2 separate regions of the Homo sapiens genome follow, and region 2 is linked to region 1. Evidence: promoter capture Hi-C in human tissues and cell types (Jung and others, 2019). All regions are on one chromosome and are shown on one strand. Each heading gives the region's core, a stretch centred on a gene start or on the middle of the fragment in contact. The rest is flanking DNA. Distances are from core to core; before and after follow the strand shown.

The links. Contacts are between HindIII fragments. The study calls those that stand out against the background at their distance.
Region 2: a contact is called between a fragment that was not itself captured here and the fragment with the promoter of SYT10 in region 1, in 1 of the 25 tissues and cell types used here (dorsolateral prefrontal cortex).

What each region holds. Positions count from the first base shown.
Region 1 is chr12:33,438,440-33,442,614 of GRCh38, reverse strand. SYT10 (synaptotagmin 10) reads left to right here and starts at 2,796. Exons shown (of 7, transcript NM_198992.4): 1 at 2,796-3,243. The coding sequence starts at 3,093. RefSeq lists an enhancer at 3,069-3,885. The HindIII fragment of the contact is 9,708 bases long and covers 1-4,175 here.
Region 2 is chr12:33,379,370-33,383,818 of GRCh38, reverse strand. SYT10 (synaptotagmin 10) reads left to right here. Exons shown (of 7, transcript NM_198992.4): 5 at 1,299-1,470; 6 at 3,858-3,987. Among named protein-coding and RNA genes, the nearest start is that of SYT10, 58 kb to the left of the region's middle. The HindIII fragment of the contact is 5,901 bases long and covers 1-4,449 here.

The sequences.
Region 1 (4,175 bases), core at 1,547-4,046:
CAAGTGTATACAGAAAGTTACAACTGGTCTGTTATGAATCTGAGCTGCCAATAGAATACAGAAAAGGAAAGTAGTAACACTTGAAGTAAGTTCAAATTTAATAATTTTCTGTGATCTTCATTCAGCTGCTCTGAGATTTCTTCATTTACCTACTCTCTTAGTTCCTGTTTTGGAGGTCAAATAATATTTAAAATTATAGTGTTAGAGTGATTCCCAAGTTCCCCTTACCGTAGAGAGATCTCTGCCTAACAAGCTAACTCTCCCTCCCCCACGATATGAACGAGAAAGGGCAAGAAGGAATTGAAAGAGGATTGAGCAAGTAGGGAAATCAGAGTTTTGAATGTTTAAAATTGTCACTTAACAGGTATGCTTAGTTCACACGGGTTTTTCCTGGGCTCCTTATTTCCAAACCAATCCCTCCTCTACATAACGTAGAGGTCATCCAGAAGGAAGCTGTGACAGAGATCATTACAGCTAGTATTTTTTTGACTAACAATGGCTACTATAGTACTCAGCACAGCCAACAATGCTCAGTAAATATCAGTCTAACCTGCACTCCTCTCCTTTTACTATTTCACCAATTCCTTCAGAGTGTGAGTGGGGAAGTAAATGCAAATCTGTATTGCTTGATTTACTTTTTAGGTTCTTGGTAGCTGAAATAGTTGGAAAAAAAATTTAAAGACTGAAAATTGAAATTCTTGTCATCTTATCCTTCAGCATTGAAAAAGATGACCTTCAATGCAGTTTTTACTTTGCCCAAAATTCTTACCTGAGCTTTTAGTTAGTGACAAACAAAACTGTTTTGATTCACCTGCTAATGAGCTGCGAGATGGTCCAAAGAACAAAGAAAAAAATCAAAACCTGTGATATTCATTTTAGATGAAAGAAAATTTTTTTCAGAGAAATGAATTCAGAAAAACGAATATCCAAGTGAAATTAACTCTGCTTGTTGTGAAAACACAGCAGTAAGAGTAGCAACAGGCCAGGAACAGCATAAACAAATACCAGGAAAGTTATTTTCAGAATTTGTTTACCTAATGTTTAACACTGAAATCAAACACAAGAGGGTCATTAGGGAGACCTTCTGCATTACTCCACTTAAGCAATTAGAATCTGTAAGTAGTATAAAGATAATTACTCATTTGGTCCTCCTACACAGCAATTAGTTCATATGGTAAATATGAAAGTACAGCATTGCATTGCAGGCTGTTTTCTACCGGTCTGTCTGTGTAGACTGTAGCAGAATGGGGGGCAAAAGGCAATTGGAAAGGGCCTTATTAAAGTGTGTTATTTAGTTTTGTGCATACAGTAGATGTTTAATATTTTTTGATTGACAGTGAAATTATTTCTTTAGACAATTTGACTTAAAAACCACCCAAGTCAGTGTGCATAAAGACAAAAACCAAATGAAGCCTGCAGATTTTAGTTTGTCTTAATTCGTGGTAAAAATAGTCCTAGTTAAACCAATCGTCCTATGGATCAGGTCAAAATGATTCAACTAATGAATGCTTCCCTACTGGAGTGCTATGCCTAATATTTATACTAGGTTTACCATAGTCCTGTGCAAAGCAAATAATTTACCATGAACTGATTAGCTGTTTTTAAAAAAGACTACTTATTCTACTAGCATAGACACGCTAACAAGTTCAATGTATCCCACTTCAAAAATAAAGAATCCCTCATCACAAGAGGGTTAAATCAATCCTCAGGTTATGATATGGGATCAAACTCTGCCCGAAAACAGTTTAAAAACCATATAAACATATTATATCCTGAAGCCCATGTTTATTATTTTGTCGCTTTAGTTCTACTGATTTGCACCCATTTGCATTAAAGAATTATAAAAACAGGTGAGCTTAAGACATCCGAGTCCAAATCTCCCATTTTACAGACTCAGGCAAAGACCCGAAAGCAGGCCGGCCGTGGTGGCTAGTGCCAGCATTTTGGGAAGCTAAGGCGGTAGGATTGATTGAGCCCAGGAGTTCGAGACCAGCCAGGGCACCATAGTGAGATCCTTGTCTTTACAATAAGTTTAAAAAAAAAAAATAGCGCCTGGAGTCCCTGGAGTCCTAGCTACTAGGGAGGCTGAAGTAGGAGGATCGCCAAGACCTGAAAACAACTTCAAGGTTAGGCTGAGATGTGTGACAGATTTGAACTTAATCCTGTTCCCTTTAACACCCATGTCTTGTTTTAAGTCGCTAAGAAAGGAGATGGAGGGAGTCAAGTTGTGCATTCTCAATCGCCAATTACGGATTAATCGACAGAATCTTATCTGATTATTAGTACAAATAACATTTTATTTTGTGATCTACCTAAGAGGGTTTGCTTATTCACGCATTCTTTTTTCTAATTAACTTTTTCAGTTTTTCTTCGATTGGGATGACTTTTCCAGAAGGGCAGAAGCAGATAGCACAGAAAGTAGAATACATCCGTGGAAAAGTTGGAGAGACAAAGGCGGCGGGGATGGCTGCACTGATGCAGGGAAAAGTATTGGGAAAACGGAGAGGGCTCCTCGGGCCAACTCTGGGCAACGATGAGCATCCCCGGCCTCGGCAGGGGCGCCGGGCCGCCCGCCCTCCCTCCCTCCCTCCCTCGCGAGTCCCTTCTTCAGAGGACGCGGGGAGCCGGGTCTGCGCGCTCCGCCGCCTGTCACCTAGCGCCCGCGCCGGGCTGCGATTGGACGCGTCGCCGCCAGGCACCCGCCAGAAACACCAGTGCGCTGGGGAGAGGAGGGGGGCGTGCTTGCGAGTCGAGGGCTTGCTTTGGCTTTTTTACGGCTCCCCCCTCCCCTCAGCACTCCATGCCGGGTCTCTAGTTCCAGCGCGCCTCGGCTCGCTCGCGCGGCGGGAGAGTTGGCGCAAACCTCGCGGCAGCCGCAGCCTCCTCGCGCGCCTCTCCTTCCCCTACGCCCTCCGCTCCCGCCATGGGGCCAACGTGGGGCTCCTAAGAGTTGCCGGCTCTCAGCGGCGCAATCTCCAGCCAAAGTCACCGCGGGCGGACTATGGCTTAGGGCGCCAGAGGGGTTAGAGGTACGGGAAGAGGAAAAGACGGCTAACTGGGAAAAAAAGAGAAAACGAAAGAAAAGCCAAACGATGAGTTTCCACAAGGAGGACGGAGTGAACAGTCTGTGCCAGAAGGCTCTGCACATCGTCACCGAGCTGTGCTTCGCCGGCCAGGTGGAGTGGGAGAAGTGCTCGGGCATCTTCCCTCGGGACAGGGGCAGCCAGGGCGGAAGCAGCACAGGTAACCGGGAGGGCTCCGCTCGCGTCCTCGCGCTCCGCTGGGACCCCGCGCGCTAGGCTGCAAGCTCCGGGGTTCTGCGCCTCCCGCGCCGCTCCCGCGGCATATTTGGGGCGCCACGCTTTCCTACCTCGCTCCTTCCTTCGCTCAGCTCCTGACGACTTCGAGGGTGGGGCGTTTGGGTTTTGTTTCCTCCTGTCCACCTGCCGGGCTTCTCCCATTCTCTGGTCCGCTTCCCGCCTCCCGGCGCCGTCTCCCGCTCCCAGCCTCGCCGCGCCTCTCCGCGTTCTCCCACGCCTCCCATCTCCCTCCCGGAGTGGAGAAGTGAGTGCGGGCGGTGACGGCGCCGGGACGGCTCGCGGCTTGGCTGCTTGTGGGGGCGGCTCACCTGTGGGACTAGGGCTGCTCTCGCTCGTTCCACCGGCCGCTGGTCCCGGCCTTGTTGATGGGGGCCAGGCGGGACGGACAAGCCATGCTTGGACGCAGAACTCCCTTGCAGAGGTGGCTGCCTTGGCCTCCGAGGTAACCCGCGGCTGCAACCTGTCGGGCACCTGACAATTTCTAAAGCCCTTTTAATATATATGATTTTCTAGGGTTTCATGACAAAGTTGGTAAAACAAGGATTATTGATCCCATTTGTGAGGCGACACCTAAAGCTCAGAGCACATATCGAAGAAGTGGAAGAGAGGGGAGACGTTTAAAATCCCTAGCACACGCACGCTCTCAGACATCCAACTCACAGACGTCCTCCCTACCCTTCAGGAAACTAGGAAATGGGCTGGATGCAGGAGGATATCGACCGTCGGAAATCTGGAGATGGAAAAAAGTCTCAAGTGGATTTTCCTCAAGGCTTGGGGGTGGAAAGGATCGAATCCAAGCCACTGTTTGGGTCACGGTTGGGGAAAAGGTTGGTGTGTCCAGCCTGCTGTGCTCCT
Region 2 (4,449 bases), core at 1,583-4,082, 59 kb after region 1:
GGAGCGCATGCTTTGAGAGCACCTCCTCATTAATCCTCACAACAGGGTTGTGAATCAACCAAAGACCCAGTAAATTATCCTTGTCACAAGCAGAGAAATGTAGTCAGAGACGTGACGGGAATTACAAAGGGTAATCTATGCCTCTCATTCTCACTGTTCATTAGAAGGCCTAGGCCTGTGGGCTCAAACACAAAGCTGTATCACAGAAATGAGCTTCTCCTTAGGACATACTTCATATTATTTAAAAATTTAAAAATAAATAGGAAACAGACATTAACATGACCCTGTTATCTTGTTTTCCTCTACATACCCTATTTCCAGCCACGAATACCTTGCTTCTTGATGGGAATACTTTGGAAATACACAGATACATATTTCAAGAGTCTAAGAAGCATTCACATGCTCAAATAAATTAATATTGCCATCATTTTGGTTTATTCTATGGAAATAAAATGTAATACTATGGAAATAGGAAAAAAGAAATATTGGTGCTACAGTTAGAGGATGGTCAGAATGAAAAAAAAATTGATAGCAAACACTGATTGTTTAACTATCTAGTGTACTCAACCCAATGTCAGTATCACCTCCCAAAACCGTGCCTGCTTTGAATAAAAGGTGCAAAAGTAAGGCTTGTTGGAAATTTTGTATAACCATCATATAATGTTCTATAATACTATAGCAGTTTTACAATTTAAGATGGTAAGGGTAATAGGATAGATGTCAAGTCAGCTGTAGCAGAACTTGTCAACAATTATCTGATCCCTTTGGCCTGTAAAAATGTAGCCCAACTAAATTTTTCCCCCGTAATTGGCATGATGTAGACAATGTCATATCAGGAGGCTTCTTTTTGTGTGGCCATCTTTAAACCAAATATCCCCCCTTTTATCATTTACTGTTGTGCATGCAATAAATCACTTGTAAGTATCATTTTTTTCCATCCAAGTTCCTTATCAAGCAAATGATATTTTTAATTTTAGGTCCTTTTCCAGTAATTGAAGAAAATTCCAAGTATAGCTTTCGCTTTCTAATTTCTGCTTATTGTGATCATCTCTATCTGTCTAGGTACAGAGTTGCTAAGTCTTTCACAAGTTTTGATCTTCTTACTCTAGACCATTTTGAAAGAAACTAACCTTACTACAATTACTCTTTTTTTTGGAGACAAATTTAAAATTGGTAATACTAAAGGTCTTAATATAGGCCTTAGTACTATAGGTCTTATTTAGTAAAAATAAACTGCAGTTTTATTTATGCTTTGTACTATTACTTTTATTTTAATAAAGTTATCTTCTTATTCCTAGATCCTTATGTCAAAGTGTCCCTGATGTGTGAAGGTCGAAGATTAAAAAAGAGGAAAACAACTACAAAGAAAAACACTCTAAACCCTGTGTACAATGAGGCCATTATTTTTGACATCCCTCCAGAGAACGTGGACCAGGTCAGCCTCTCCATTGCGGTCATGGATTACGATAGGTATGTGTATCTCTCTTCTCACTGAAGAGCAGCCATGTCTAGTCATGCGCAGGCCAAACTCAGCTTTTCAGGTCATTTACTGCCACAACAGTTTTAATTTAAATTGGAGGAGGGAATAATGATTCCTTGAAAATTCATTGTTTTCTGTGTTATAGTTCTGGATTTTCATTTCCAAAAGAAGTCATCTTTAAATTAAAATTCACCGGGGACTGGTGAAAGAATGGGTCCAGAAGTAGTATAGAACATATTCAAGAAAGCACTATTGTGGAGTCTTTTTATAGTAACAACAGAGATTACAATCAACAGAATTTGTTTTACCAACTAGGCTGGAATATGAATATCATGATGCTTACCCGAGTTCTATCATTAACTAGCTGCATGAGAGGACATGTTACATAATCACTTTGAGAATCACTTTTCCCATTTGTAAAACTTAAGCATCATACAGAACTGTGAACAACGAGGAGTAAGAGTGGAAAGTGAATAAGTAGTCATAAGGATACAGCTTTGATGCCTTCACATCAATCTTAAAGCATTGCTTTATGGATAGTTCTTCCAGATCACACTCTTTGAGTCACTCCTGCTTTCATGAAAACATTGCAACCTCCCCTATGCAGCTCTGAAGATCCTTCCCACTGCAGCTCTTACCTTTGCCCTCCCACTCTCCCCGTTGCCTGGACTGTCCTCCAGCTTTGTGTATCATGTCCCACCAACACCCCACAGCCTGGCTTATGTCAGCACCTCTGTAAGTCTTGCTTTGCTGACCAATCCTCTTCTTCCTCTGAACTCTTGTCCCATCAATGGTTTATGTCTCTTATTTGGGCCTTACTATATACTTCCTCTTATTATTTTGCCCTTTATATTTATAAAATCTTTGGAAATGAATACTTGTGTTTTTAACCTACAAAATTATCAACACATAAACAGTACCTTAGTATATTTATTTTGTTCTAAAACGCACAAACACACGCTAAGTGTCCATTTTATAGTATCATCACCAGGACCCTGTAACTGAGAGATATTAATGTGCTCTCCTCTGGCTTAGAGCTAGGGGGGGAAACACTGAAAAATAACATTTGCAAGCACTGTCTACTAGAAATGAATTTATAATTTTTAAAAAATTTTAACTTGTGACTACTATTTAGAAAGAGAGAGCGAACTCTTGAATCCATTGAAATTTCAAACTAAAAAAGTTGCAGATGTTTTCATCAGGGGCCCTATTCTGCTTTGCCAATTACCCCTATTGATTTCTCACAGCAATAAGTGTAGGTAGATACAACTGAGCATTTGTCACTGGGGCAATTTTAGGGAAATGGATGCTAACAAGATATACACAGGAAGACAAAATTTTTGTACCTAAAAACATGCTTGTTTGGGAAATTTCATATTAAAGAAAATAATACTACATATACATATCTACATCAATGATGGAAAAAAAAGTAATGAAATTGTTCTAAAATCATCTCAAAAGTATCTTTGGAGATGTCTGTCAAAATTGAAACTCCTTTCAATGACATTCCATTCTTGAGAAGCAACTTAACCACAAGTGCTCTTGAGCCAACAACTCCTTTGATTCAGCTCCTGTCTCTGCCTCTTACTAAGTGTGTAAAGTCTGGCCAGCTCCTAATCTTCTGGGCATTTAGTTTATTCATAAAATGAGAGAATGATAATAATGATATTCATGGTCATGGTGGGGGAATTAATTGGGTCAGTACATTTAAACTACCTAGAACACTGGCACATAATAAGCTCTCAAAAATATTAACTGTTATTATTATCATCTTGATTCATTGCTATGAAAGCAGGACCTGAATAGAATATACAAATGTTGTCCAGTATGTTTTCTGTTATGCAAAAATAAATCACATGCCATGCAACTGAACATAATCCTGCCCTATTTAATTGTAATGCAAGTGGTAACACACTGAGGTATCATTTAGAGTCAATTAAAGAAAATTGGTACTGCTGTATTTCTTGGTGAGAAATCTAAACATCGTTATAAAACATTAAGCTTTGTGGAAAGAACAAGATTTGTTTTACATCACTTGTATTAAATAAGACTGCTTCCAAGAAAGACACTCATCATATAGGTAAAGACCTACTGGTATTTCTCATTCATGCCATTTTTATTATGATGAAATGTGCTTAAACTACAAAGCACTGAAATGGTTTGTGTGTGCCTCTTATACACATTCATTTTTTGAATGTTGATACTGTTTAGTAAATGTTGATTTACTTAAGAGATTTCATTCGGTCTGAAGTAGCATAATCTGCAAAATTACAGAATCTAATGTTTTAATCATATTTTTAAAATTCTACTACGATTTGTGAAACCCCCTTTATCTTTGAATGTTGGAAATGAAAATATAATATCCCACAAATCATAGGGTAGGACACAATGAGGTCATAGGAGTGTGCAGAACAGGACTGGATGCTGAGGGTCTTGGGCGAGACCACTGGAATGAAATGCTGGCCTATCATCGAAAACCAATAACGCACTGGCACCCATTGCTGGAGGTAAGCTTGTGAGTTCCTTACGTCTGCTCTTTTTGTTGTCTCTTTTGCTTAAATATTATTTATTTGCTAACCTTTATCTGATATTTTATGTATTCACCCTTGTTAAAAAAAATAGAAAAGATTGTTCTTGCTTTTGTCCCACATTGTCTAACATTTAATATTCAAAGTTCTGTGTGCCTTCCTGGATTTTAAAAAACACTACATTTTCTGGGCTTCATATTCTTTTGGACAGTAAGCCATTTGCAAGTCTCTTTTTTTTTTTTTTTTTTTTTTTTTTTTTTTGCATAGCCTGAAAACTTACATCAGTGAGTGCTGGAGCAATCTAATAAGTTTATTACTAACTGGAAACTGCATTTTTGTCCTTCTCTTCTGTAAAAAACAGCCACCTTACCTAAAGTGTTCCACAATCCCTAAATAAAGGTGCTGTCACCTAATATAACTTTTCTGCGTAAGGGGAAAGAT